4 separate regions of the Homo sapiens genome follow, and regions 2, 3 and 4 are each linked to region 1. Evidence: promoter capture Hi-C in 16 types of primary human blood cells and fetal thymus (Javierre and others, 2016). All regions are on one chromosome and are shown on one strand. The core of a region is centred on a gene start or on the middle of the fragment in contact, and the rest is flanking DNA. Distances in the headings are between cores, read along the strand shown. Region 1 holds the start of RNF114 (ring finger protein 114). Region 2 has its middle 11 kb from the start of PTGIS. Region 3 overlaps PTGIS (prostaglandin I2 synthase). Region 4 overlaps B4GALT5 (beta-1,4-galactosyltransferase 5).

Region 1 (3,124 bases), core at 1-2,500:
TTGAGAGGGAGTCTCGCGCTGTCGCCCAGACTGGAGTGCAGTGGCAAGATCTTGGCTCACTGCAAGCTCCGCCTCCCAGGTTCAAGCCATTCTCCTGCCTCAGCCTCCCGAGTAGCTGGGACTACAGGCGCCCGCCACCACGCCCGGCTAATTTTTTGTATTTTTAGTAGAGACAGGGTTTCACCGTGTTAGCCAGGTTGTGTTTTTGTTTTTTTTTTTTTTTTTCAGACGGAGTTTCGTTCTTGTTGCCCAGGCTGGAGTTTAGTGACTGTTGGAGTGAGTGAGCCATCTTGGCCCACGGCAACCTTCGCCTCCCAGGTCAAAGGCTTTTCCTGCCTCAGCGTCCTGAGTAGCTGAGGCTACAGGCATGGGCAACCACGCCTGGCTAATTTTAGTATTGTTAGTAGAGACGGGGTTTCACCATGTTGGCCAGGCTGCTCTAGTACTCCTAGGCTCAAGCGATCCGCCCACCTCGGCCTCCCAAAGTGCTGAGATTACAGAAGTAAGCCACCTTGCCCAGCTCCTTTGTATAAATAAATGATATTGATTTTCTTCTTGCAGCTCAGGAATTAGATCTGTTATTAGAATTTGCTTAAATTTAAGAAATGGCTGGGTACTGTGGCTCACCGCTGTAATCCCAGCACTTCGGGTTGCCGAGGCAGGCGGATTGCTTGCGTCCAAGAGTTCGAGGCCAGCCTCGGCAACACAGTGAGACCCGCCCGCTCTCTGCACCACTCCTTCCCCCCCTCCTTTCCCCGTCTCTACAAAAAATACAAAAATAAATAAATTAGTCCGGCATGGTGGTGACTGCCTGTGGTCCAGCTACGCAGGAGGCTGAGGTGGGAGGATCGCTTGAACCCCGGTGGTCGAGGCTGCAGGGAGCCATGATCGCGCGCGCCACTGAACACCAGCCTGGGCGACAAAGCAAGACCTTGTCCCAAAATAGATTAAATAAATAAATAAATAAATTTAAGGAAAAAGCAACTTGATTCGAAGATAAATAGTGATAGTGCAAGTGGTGCCGAACTAACGATAAATTTGGAAAACAGCGGCCCACGCGCAGAGCCCGTCCCAATTCTGGCAGCCTTTGGATTTGGCTTCCACGTTTTCCAGATTTCCCTCGGCCTCTAGCTCGCTTGCGTCAGAGGGGCCCCGAGGGGCGGCCCACCCGCTAGCCCCGCCCCCAACCGCTCACCGCCCCGCGAGCCCCGCCCCCTCGGCCTCCTCCTCATCGGCCGCCGTTGCGCGGCGCAGAGCGGCAGCAAGATGGCGGCGCAACAGCGGGACTGCGGGGGTGCTGCGCAGCTGGCGGGGCCGGCGGCGGAGGCTGACCCCCTAGGACGCTTCACGTGTCCCGTGTGCTTAGAGGTGTACGAGAAGCCGGTACAGGTGCCCTGCGGACACGTGTAAGCGGCGAGCCCGGGCCTGGTCGGGGGGCGCTTAACTGGGAAGGGAATGGAGCCGAGGAGCGAGATGGGTCTCAGGGCGGGAGCCAGAGGACCCACCCAGAGGGGCCTCCCGGGGGTGTCCCCCGGGGCTCCTAAGGGCCGTGAAAGCTGCCGGGGCGCTCTTCTGTCCCGCCCCGCTCACTCCTAAGTATCCCGTTCCTCCGCCCGTCTTAGCGGGGCAGCTGCTGTCTGTTGAGCGCCTGCGATGTTCCAGGCGGCCTGTCAGTCTCCTTCCCACACGTGATAGTGGACTCGTGCCCTGCGGGGACTTTAGGCTCCGAAGTCCGCCCTTGGAGAGCCGACGTTTCCTTTCTAGTCCACGTCGCTCTTAAAGCATAGGACATTTGGCGTCGTGTCTAGCTGTGGCGAGTTATTCTACTGTGCACTAAAGTCGGGAGAAACGCTGAACTAGACTAAAACAACAAAAGGGAAGTCTTTATGGGGATCTGGCCAGTTTGCCCTTAGCTGTGAAAGGGGGGTGGGAGTTGGCAGATGGGATTGTTAGCATTCTACTTCCTGTGTAGGAGGTTTGTTTCTTTCAGTTTTCAATTAAGCCTTCATGACCTGAATATTGTGAATAGAGTGGTTATAATGATTAAAGCAGATATGTGTATAAATGTCCAGTCCAGGTCCTGGGCTGTGGCCGGGGCTTTCGAGGTTGGTCAGGTTGGTCGATTTGAATCTAAGCCTTGTTCCATCAGACGCACAAACACATCTGAGTTGAAAGAATTGTAGACAACGTGGCCACCTGCTTCTTGCCTCAGAATTGGCTTTTCCTCTGGCCCCTCTCAGTGCTTATCGTGGGATCACCTTGGCATTGGTCTTGGCAGCGGGCACAGTAGCCATTGCACTCCATGGGCATTATTCTATAGCCACCCTGCAGCGGGGGAGGGTTGGCAGCCATTTTACAGGTGAATACACTGAGGGTCCGAGGCTCTCTTAGGGAAGGGTCACCGTGGCCTAGCTCTTCCCAGATGTACTGCAGGTGACCATTTCAGTAGTCCAGAGAACAGTGCTTGGCACCTAGCTGGCTGCTTTTTGCTTCATCATGTTGCTTTAGGCTATTCATCTTTGCAATTCGGTTAGCCTGGAACTCTTCCCCCCACCCCTCCCTTTTCAGGCTTCAAGTCCCAGGTTAAGTTACCTCACCAAATACCATCCCCATCTAAATTACTTCCCCCACTTCCTTTCTGGGACTTAACTTCCTTCTCCTTGCTTGCACAGAGCAAAACTTAACAGCTCATGACGGAGTGGCCATATCTTTATTGCCCCTGAACTGACTGGAATGGCCTCTGTGTGCCAGATTTTGGGGTAGACTCTGCCTTCAGAGTTTACAGTCCAGTGAATTGATTATAAATAAGTACCAATGACTGGTCAAACTATTGTAAAAATTCATTCTGCAAGTGGGAGGGTATTTCAGGGATCACACCTCTGTGCGTGGGGTGAGTGATCAGGTAATGGTTGAATGAACTAATAAGTCGTGTAAGCAAGCTTCACGAGAGTTGAAGTGGTCTTTAGCTTTTTCATTGAATCCACTTATCCTTGGATCAGATTTACCTGATTTTGGATTAATTCAGTGGATTTCATTTACTATTAACATTTGTAAAAAGGCTAGACCCAGCACAGTTTGCTAAATGAAGAGCAGCAAAATTTGAGATTTTCTTGAGCTTGGTGAA
Region 2 (3,160 bases), core at 656-3,155, 360 kb before region 1:
AGGAGATCGCTTGAATGTGGGAGGCAGAGGTTGCAGTGAGCTGAGATCATGACATTGCACTCCAGCCTGGGCAACTAGTGAAACTCCGTCTCAAATTTAAAGAAAGAAAGAAAGAAACATCTTAGGAGAACTGAATGGAGCAACTACCTCTGTGAAGGAGGACAATAAGGAAACTGAAGAACTCAAAAAGAAGGCAGGCAAAAGGAGGTAATGAACATGAAGGGTTAGCACTCAGGAAAGAAGTAGAAAGAAAAAAAAATATCAGAAATGAAGACAAAATTGGAGGGGAAGGAAATAGGCCCTGCAGAAAATACAGCAAGGACACGGTTAACAGAAATGGAAAAAGAGGAAAAAAATGAGACAGAAATAAAGAAAACATTAGAAAGACTAGAAAGAAAATTGGCTGGGTGCTGTGGCTCATGCCTGTAATCCCAGCACTTTGGGAGGCCAAGGCAGGCAGATCACTTGAAGTCAGGAGTTCAAGACCACCCTGGCCAACATAGCAAAACCCCATCTCTATTAAAAGTACAAAAATTAGCCGGGCATGGTGGCACACACCTGTAATCCCAGCTACTCGGGAGGCTGAGGCACGAGAATCACTTGAACCCCAGAGACAGAAGTTGCAGTGACCTGAGATTGAGCCACTGCACTCTAGCCTGGGCGACAGAGCAAAACTCTGTCTCAAAAAATAAATAAATAAATAAAAATAAATAAAGGTGTGAGCATCCATGCACCAGATAACACAGCAACAGATAGTTACAGAGCAAGGACATTTTAAGTCACTTCTCTCAGCTCTTGAAATACCAAGGGAAAAAAAAAAGGAAATAGAAAGTCAAAATAACATAGTGAACCACAAACACTGGCTACCTAGTAAGCCACAAAGAACATGGCAATAATTTTTTTAAAAGCAGAATAAAAGTACAATAGTCTCAGATCGCAATGCAACAAGCCTGTGTGACCTCCATTCCTCTCCCTCCCACCCCAGCACCTCCCCAGAGGGCAATAATCCCCCAGCCCCACTTCACCAGGCATCAGCTCCTGTGTCTGTTCCATGTTAGATCATGTTAGATCTCATCTTGGCCAGACACGGTGGCTCACGCCTGTAATCCCAGCACTTTCAGAGGCCGAGGCAGGTGGATCACCTGAGGTCAGGAGTTCAAGACCAGCCTGGCCTACATGGTGAAACCCCATCTCTACTAAAAGTACAAAAATTAGCTGAGCATTGTGGCAGGCACCTGTAATCCCAGCTACTTGGGAGGCTGAGGCAGGAGAATCGCTTGAACTGGGAGGCGGAGGTTGTGAGCTAAGATCGCGCCACTGAACTCCAGCCTGGGCAACAGAGTGAGATGCTGTCTAAAAAAAAATCTCATCTCAAACACACAAACATTTCACTGCTTTAAAAAAAAAAAAATAGAAATCTTTGGTGGATGTTCAGCCACGCTCATGGTTCACAGCTCCAAACTCTGATGCACAGGCAATCACATAGCCCAAATGTCTACATGTCCTGCATGTCCGCAGAGGGCTAGAGTGAGAGAGCCTGGGCTCCACGGCCAGACTATGTGAACTCAAAGCCTGGCACCCGCCCCCCCACTTAAAAGGCCTCAGGCATATTGCTTATCTGTGCCTTTGTTTCCCCAGGTGTCAAATGGAGTTGGTTGTGAGGATGAAAAGAGTTAATCTCTGGAAGTATGGAAAGCCTTGGATAAATGTGGGCTATTAGCATTATTTTCACAGCCTCCCAACCTCCCTCCACTAATACCAGACACGCTGGAGAGAGTTCTCTGTCTCCCTAACCATTTATTTGGTGATCAGAAGGACCTTCTGCCTGTGATTTCTGACCTGGCAGGATACTGGGGGACCACTTTTGCCTCTGCCTGGAGATAGCATGTCTGAGAATGAAACCGACTTACAGGGCAGCAGAACCAAGAGATAGGGAAATACAGTTTCTTGAGATATCATTTGAACCCCCGGATTCAGCCATGCCTGAAGCCAGAATGCTCCTGACCACATGAACCATTAAATTATTTTTGTTTGCTTGTTTCAGCCAATTTGGGTTGAGTTTCTTTCACTTGCAATAGAAGAAAGTTCTCCATTCTGAAGCTGAATAAGGTAGTATGTGAAGTACTTGTTTCATACCTGGTGCTTAATGGATGAAACCTTATTACATTCTCATTTCGTAAACCTTCTCCAGGGCTTTCTGGGAGGCAACCAGATATGAATTAGAGTGACACAGCTTTGCACTCCTTGCCCAGCCTGGATAAGATGCCCCATTCGCAGCAAGCTCTATGCAGTCAGGGCCAGCTTCATGGACATGCAACCTGGGTGCTCACATAGGCCCCTGCACCCAGAATGGTCTCATGCTCGGCTTAGCGCTCTCCTGTCACCAGCTTGAAATTCTTAATTATTTTTGAACAAGGGTCCCCATGATTTTACTTTACTCTGGTACCCACAAAGTATATAGCTGGTCTTAATACCAGTATCATCTCCACTTTCCAGGTGAGGAAACTGAAGCTCAAAGAGGGGAAGCAAGCAGCCCAAGGTCACACAGCAAGAAAGGGGTGGAGCTGGGAATCAAATTCTGATTCTGAGGCCCAAGTTCATAACTGCGATGTGCCAGTGCCTGGACAATTCCTCATATGTGGATGGCACTTCACAGTTTATACTCTAGTGCATAGCATTTGACCCTCATACCAGCTTTAGAAGCAGAAATTGTCATGCTGGCATCAGGCAGAGTACTTGGGTTTGTTCAAGCCTCAGAAACCAACCCTGGCTAATTTAAGAAAAAGAAAAGGTGGGGACGAGGTATTGGAAGGAAAAGTTGACCAGCTGGGACTTGGAAAGGACAGGAACAAGCAGCTCCGGGAACGCGGGGAGCAGGAGCCAGGGGTGTGGGGAGCAGGAACCAGTGGCCAGGTCTTCGGGGCTCCAGCTGTTTCCAATCTCAGCATTCCTTCCGCTTCAGTTTCTGATTCTCCCACGAGAAAGTCTGATTGGCCATGTTTGGGTCATGTGCCTGCCCACAGACCTTGATGGTCAACCAAACAAGGTGGGAAGGATGATCCCCCAAAGGCGGGTCAGAAAGTGGGGTGGGAGGGCTGAAAGCTGGGCAGGGACGGCTGTGTGCGCATTTTACAGATGAGGAATGGGAAGCCCAGACAGA
Region 3 (2,928 bases), core at 311-2,810, 410 kb before region 1:
TGATAATCCAGACAATTATGTATAACCTTCTGATGTTTTTTAAGGTTAGCATCCAAGTAAAAAGTTTTTAATCACTGTGCAGACCACAGAAGCATCTCTGAAGGTCAACTTTGGCCCACAGATCACTAGCGTGCATCACCATTAAACAGACAATGGTGTGTTTATGTTCTGGAAACATACAGCAGTGAAAGTGAGTTAGTACATTTTACCTACAGACACAGAGAGTTCCCAAGGGCAGACTGGTAAGGGGATAAAGCCGGGCACTGAAGAATGACACTATTTAGATATTGTTTTCTTTTCTACTTCTTTTTTTTTTTTTAAAATATTTTCATGAACCATACATGAGCCTTAATATACATTGTTTTAAAGCTCCACGGTAATGCTATTTATATGCACAAATATAAAGTTTAAAACAAAAATATAAAATATAAAATTTGGTTTTCTCCGAAATCACCCCTTGGAAAAGTGAGAGTCATTTTGGATTGCTCTGAAGTTTCAAAGTATTGGAAACTCCCTCACTGACTCTTCTGAACCACAAGCCGTGTTTCAGGAAGACTCGCCCCACCAGCGATTCTAAACCTGGCTGCACCTCACAGGGCATTTGAAAGGGTCGAAAATGTAGACTATGTTTTTTTTTTAAAGTATGTTGGCTTCATTTTCAAATAATACGCTGAATATGTTTAACTTTTAGACTTCAACTTGAGCTCATTGTTTTACATTGAAATGAATGTCACCATTTCGGGTGACATTTCAATGTAAAGCAATAAGCTTAAGTGTTCAACTGAAATACATTATCTTCCTATGTTTCTCCACTTTTCAGGCTCTCTGAAGAATTACCTGGGAGCTCTTAAATCTCTGGATGCCCAGGTGCCAACCCCAGATTGATCATGTCAAAATCACGTGCGTGGGAACTGGGCATCCAGAGGTTTAGGCCTGCAGGGCGCGGGCAGTGTTGAAACCACCTCAGTTGATGCCAACTCTGGATACTTCTAAGCATCATCTGATGGGATGGCTAAAAAAAGAGGCAAAGAAATTTAACACAGCTTTAGAAATAACTGGCATTCTTTGAAGTCTGACCACACAACTGCAATCTTGAATATCACTGTAAACACGGCGTTTACAGATGACTTTAAAAAGCAAGGCAGGACCATTCTCCACTTTTCCCCTGTGCCTACAGCAGTTCTGAGTACATAGGAGGCACTCTATATTTGCACAATCAATGAATAATTAAGCAAAAAAGGTAATGCAGTATGAAAAGACAGCTGACAGAAAGTGAGAAAATATTTGTAAATAATATATCTGATAAGGGTCTAACACCCAAAATATATAAAAGAACTCCTACGACTCAACAACAATAAAAAACAAACAACCTGATTTGAAAATTGGCAAAGGACTTGAATAGATATTTCTCCAAAGAAGAGATACAAATGGCTGATAAACACATGAAACAATGCTCAACACCATTAGTCATTAGAAAATGCATGTAAAAACCACAGTGTGATACCATTCACAACCATGAGGATGGCTACTATTTAAAACATAGGAAATAAGTGATGGTGAGGACGTGGAGAAATTGGAACCCTTATGCATTGCTGGTGGGAATGTAAAATACTGCAGTTGCTGTGAAAAAGAGTTTAGCAGTTCCTCAGAAAGTTAAAGAATTACCATATGATCCAGTAATTCTAGTTCTAGGTATATAGCCCAAAGAACTGAAACCAGAGACTCAAACAGATACTCGTGCACCAATGTTCATAGCAGCATTATTCACAGTAGCCAAAAGGCAGAAACAACCCAAATGTCGGTTGATAGGTGAATGGATAAATAGAATGCAGTATATACACACAATGTATTCACTCTTAAAAAGGAATGAAATTCTGACGCATATGCCAGGCATGGTGGCTCACGCCTGCAATCCTAGCACCTTGGGAGGCCAAGGTGGGCAGATTTCCTGGGCTCAGGAGTTAGAGAACCAGCATGGGCAACATGGTGAAACCCTGTCTCTACTAAAATACAAAAAAAAAAAAAAAAAATTAGCCAGGCATGGTGGTGTGTACCTGTAATCCCAGCTACTCAGGAGGCTGAGGCACAAGAATAGCTTGAACCCGGGAGGCGGAGATTGTAGTGAGCTGAGATGGCGACACTGCACTCCAGCCTGGGCGACAGAGACTCTGTCTCCAAAATCTCATATAATGAGAATCCTAGAACAGGAAATTCAGAGACAGAAAGTACAATAGAAGTATACTATTCGACAGAAAGTAGAATAGAAAGTAGAATAGAAGAGACAGAAAGTAGAATAGAAGATATGTCGGGCTGGGAGGAAAGGCAGGTGGGGAATTATTGTTTAATGGGCACAAAGCTTTTGTTTAGAATCATGAAAAGTTTCTGGAAATAGATAACGGCATGGTTATACAACATTGTGAATGTATTTACTGCCACTGAATTATACAATTAAAATGGTTAAAATAGTATATTTTATGTTATTTATTATTTTACCACAATTTTTTTAAAAGGCATATGAAGGTCATTTGGCAAAAATGAGTCAAAGATAGTGTTGTATAACAAAGAATTTGCATTCTGGGCGGGTGCAGTGGCTCACGCATGTAATCCCAACACTTTGGGAGGCCAAGGTGGGCAGATCACTTGAGTTCAGGAGTTTGAAGCCAGCCTGACCAACATGGTGAAACCCCGTCTCTACTAAAAATACAAAAAAGGATAAGCTGGGGGTGGTGGCAGGCACCTGTAATCCCAGTTACTTGGGAGGCTGAGGCAGCAGAATCACTTGAACCCGGGAGGTGGAGGTTGCAGTGAGCTGAGATGGAGCCACTGCACTCCAGCCTGGGTGACAGAGTGATACTCAAAATACAAAAGAATTTGAATTCCAAGGTTTCAGTTACCCATGGTCAACCATGGTCCAAAAATATTAAATGA
Region 4 (3,006 bases), core at 55-2,554, 290 kb before region 1:
ACATAAAATGCAAACTGCAAGCGCTGGCGCTGGAGCATGGGAAGCAGGTGTCTGAACAGGACTGGGAGGTGCTCGTGGCGGTTCCGGAAGGGGATAAGGATCGCCACCTGGAGTGGATTACAGCAAAAGAAGCACAGTTAGGACTCTCAGCTTTCACTCCTTAGCAGGACACCCCTGATGAATTGCTGACCAACCCATGGGAGTTCTGGGAGGCTGGCTATCTTGTCCTCAGCTTTCTCTAAACAAAGATCTATGTTGGCAAGTTGGCCCTTGGACCTAGATGAATGTGATTCTTACATATACCATATCTTATAGTACATAGTAGGCCTATAATTTATTCTAGGCCATAACTCATAGGAAAACACACATTCTACACTGTGACAAAAATACATCTATAAACTTACAATTAAAACAAGCTTCACAAAACAGTATTTCCCCTTACAATGTGCAATGTACAAATGCTGGTTATTCAACTGTTTTTATTTCCCAGCGATGGGCTGGATACTGATGTGTTCCAGATCTGCTGCATCAGCAGCACTTAACGAGGCTGGCACAGAATACGCATTTTAATAGATACTTGTTGAAAGAATGGACTTCAGCTGGGGTCACAGCTTAACGAAAACTACTGATGTCTTCTGACTATGGTCAGGCAGAAAAAAACTAAATCTCAATGTCAAGCCAGGTAACTTTGCTTTTTAATCCACTAATCTTGTAGTAACCAATGGAGAACAGGAATGAAGCACTGACTCTGTAGATGACTTCTGCAAATGGGTCATTAGAGACCACCAACGCCCTCATCCCCTTGCTTTGTTAATATTCCTGGTGGGAAGACCAAAGGGTCTTGCTCGGTCATCAGAATAATGCAAATTTCTGTATCTACAAAAAGAGTCCTTGTGGAAACCCATTCCTCTAAAATGTTTCTACATTTGCATGGAATGGTAGGATGAAAATGACAAAATGTCATGGTTAGCTAATCCCATGGTGATTCGGACCAAAGGCAAACCCCAGGTGGGCTTCTCAGCATTTTGGCTGTGACTTCACACCCTACCTTCCACCGAGGCATGCAATCAGAAGGCTTCCAGTGACCTCCGAGCTTGATGGTTGGGTCTTTGGAGAAGAGTTCATGAATGTAATCCATTCCAATTTCACTCATGTTTATGTCTATTGGGCCCTCTGAACAGAGACGGGGAAAAGGGATTAAGAGGTCAGAAAATGATAGGTTTCCCTATGCCTGGGGTTTTAGTCTCTGGAGAGCGCAATGCTTTTTCAGCTGAATTTGTTTTTAGCAAGGATGGAAGTCCCTTCCTCTGCTTTCCATCTCACCGTATTTCAGTTCCTCACTATTTTCAAGGTGAAGAGGCAAATCAAGGAATTAAGACTTTAGAGTTCTGCTTCTGTCAGGGGCCAGGTAGAAATGAAAACTTTAAGTAAAACAGTAGCTGAGCTTTTTTTTTTTTTTTTTTTTTTTTTTGAGACAGTCTCGCTCTGTTGCCCGGGCTGGAGTGCAGTGGTGTGATCTCAGCTCACTGCAACCTCTGCCTCTGGGTTCAAGCAATTCTCCTGCCTCAGCCTCCTGAGTAGCTGCGGTTACAGGCATATGCCACCACACCCAGCTAATTTTGTATTTTTAGTAGAGATGAGGTTTCACCTTGTTGGCCAGGCTGGTCTCGAACTCCTGACCTCAAGGGATCCACCCACCTGGGCCACCCAAAATGTTAGGATTACAGTCGTGGGCCACTGTGCCCAGCCTTCTTTTTTTTTTGTTTTGTTTATTAATATGTTTTAATAAATAGAGACAGGGTCTCACTATGTTGCCCAGGTTGGTCTTGAACTCCTGAGCTCCAGTGATTCTCCCACCTTGGCCTCCCAAAGTGCTGGGATTATAGCTATGAGCCCCTGCACCTGGCTGCAGCTGAGCTTTTCTGAGAAGAAGGAGAAAAGCAGCTGAGCTTAGAGTCATGTCAGGTTTGCTCCTGATGCAAGTGCAGCCACACTACCTCTCTCAATCCATTCACCAGTGGGTCAGGACCCTGAGTGATTATGTCCTAACTCAGAATGCTGGTCATCTCTGACTTAAGTCAGGAAGTGGTACAGTAACAATCAATAAATGCTACTGAAACAATGAACTAATAACATTAGTTTTAGGCCTGTCAACGCCTATTTCTGATACACAAATCTCAGCCTTCCCAAACTAAGCTTACATCTAGATGCAGACAAATGCAGGTTTTAAAGGGAAAACCTATATATGTGTGGTGAGACATGCAAATGAAACAGTAAGGCTTCCAACACAACTTACATACTTATAATTAATTATTCATATATGGATGAGAATATGTTCAAATACCATGCACGACTATTTCTAACATTTTCCCTATTTTCACTATATTTGTGCATAAAAGTCAACTTTGCAAATGTAAGATTTTCCTTTTCTTGATCTCACTTCTTAAAAAAAAACAATTTTAAAAAAAGAAGTGGGGAACCATATTAAGAAGCCTAAAAGTATAGGAAAGGTATAAGAGTTTACTGTCCTTGTTTTAGCTTACACGAGATTCAAAAAAAAGAACAAAAAGATCTAAGAATTGTTTTAACTAGCACTTTGTTAAGAAAATAACTTCCAAGCAAGGCATGGTGGCTCATGCCTGTAGTCCCAGCTTCTCAGGAGGCTGAGGCAGGACGATTGCTCCCTGAAGTTGGAGACCAGCCTGGGCAACATAGTGAGACCCCCACCTCTAAGATCAAGCACTACAATCAGTGAGAGGTTTATACTAAAAAGACAAAGCTGACTGCCTATACAGTGATGTGCTTTGACATTTTCACCAGTGACGGATGGCATATACGGTGGTTGCATAAGATCACAATGGAGTTGAAAAATTCCTACTGCCTAGTGATGACATAGCTGCCATAGCATTGTTGTGTTACTCAAGTGTTTCTGGTGATGCTGGTATAAACAAATCTACTGCATTGCCAGTCATATAAAAGTGTATCACAAGGCTGGGAGCAGTGGCT

Evidence for each region. Contacts are between HindIII fragments. The CHiCAGO score rates a contact against its expected background, and 5 or more counts as called.
Region 2: a fragment that was not itself captured here is called in contact with the fragment with the promoter of RNF114 in region 1 in 1 of 17 cell types (monocytes); the score reaches 5.2 in monocytes.
Region 3: a contact is called between a fragment that was not itself captured here and the fragment with the promoter of RNF114 in region 1, in 1 of 17 cell types (M0 macrophages). The highest score is 5.1, in M0 macrophages.
Region 4: a fragment that was not itself captured here is called in contact with the fragment with the promoter of RNF114 in region 1 in 1 of 17 cell types (M2 macrophages); the score reaches 5.1 in M2 macrophages.

What each region holds. Positions count from the first base shown.
Region 1 is chr20:49,935,147-49,938,270 of GRCh38, forward strand. RNF114 (ring finger protein 114) reads left to right here and starts at 1,251. Exons shown (of 6, transcript NM_018683.4): 1 at 1,251-1,406. The coding sequence starts at 1,267. RefSeq lists silencers at 452-531, 1,098-1,287, 1,746-2,040, 2,326-2,620 and an enhancer at 900-1,505. The HindIII fragment of the contact is 14,536 bases long and covers 1-2,937 here.
Region 2 is chr20:49,577,088-49,580,247 of GRCh38, forward strand. No RefSeq gene overlaps it. Among named protein-coding and RNA genes, the nearest start is that of PTGIS, 11 kb to the left of the region's middle. RefSeq lists an enhancer at 3,033-3,160. The HindIII fragment of the contact is 4,359 bases long and covers 1-3,160 here.
Region 3 is chr20:49,525,278-49,528,205 of GRCh38, forward strand. The region is part of intron 5 of PTGIS (prostaglandin I2 synthase); the gene reads right to left. Among named protein-coding and RNA genes, the nearest start is that of PTGIS, 41 kb to the right of the region's middle. The HindIII fragment of the contact is 1,588 bases long and covers 767-2,354 here.
Region 4 is chr20:49,642,478-49,645,483 of GRCh38, forward strand. B4GALT5 (beta-1,4-galactosyltransferase 5) reads right to left here. Exons shown (of 9, transcript NM_004776.4): 4 at 1,049-1,173; 5 at 1-107. Among named protein-coding and RNA genes, the nearest start is that of B4GALT5, 70 kb to the right of the region's middle. The HindIII fragment of the contact is 1,780 bases long and covers 415-2,194 here.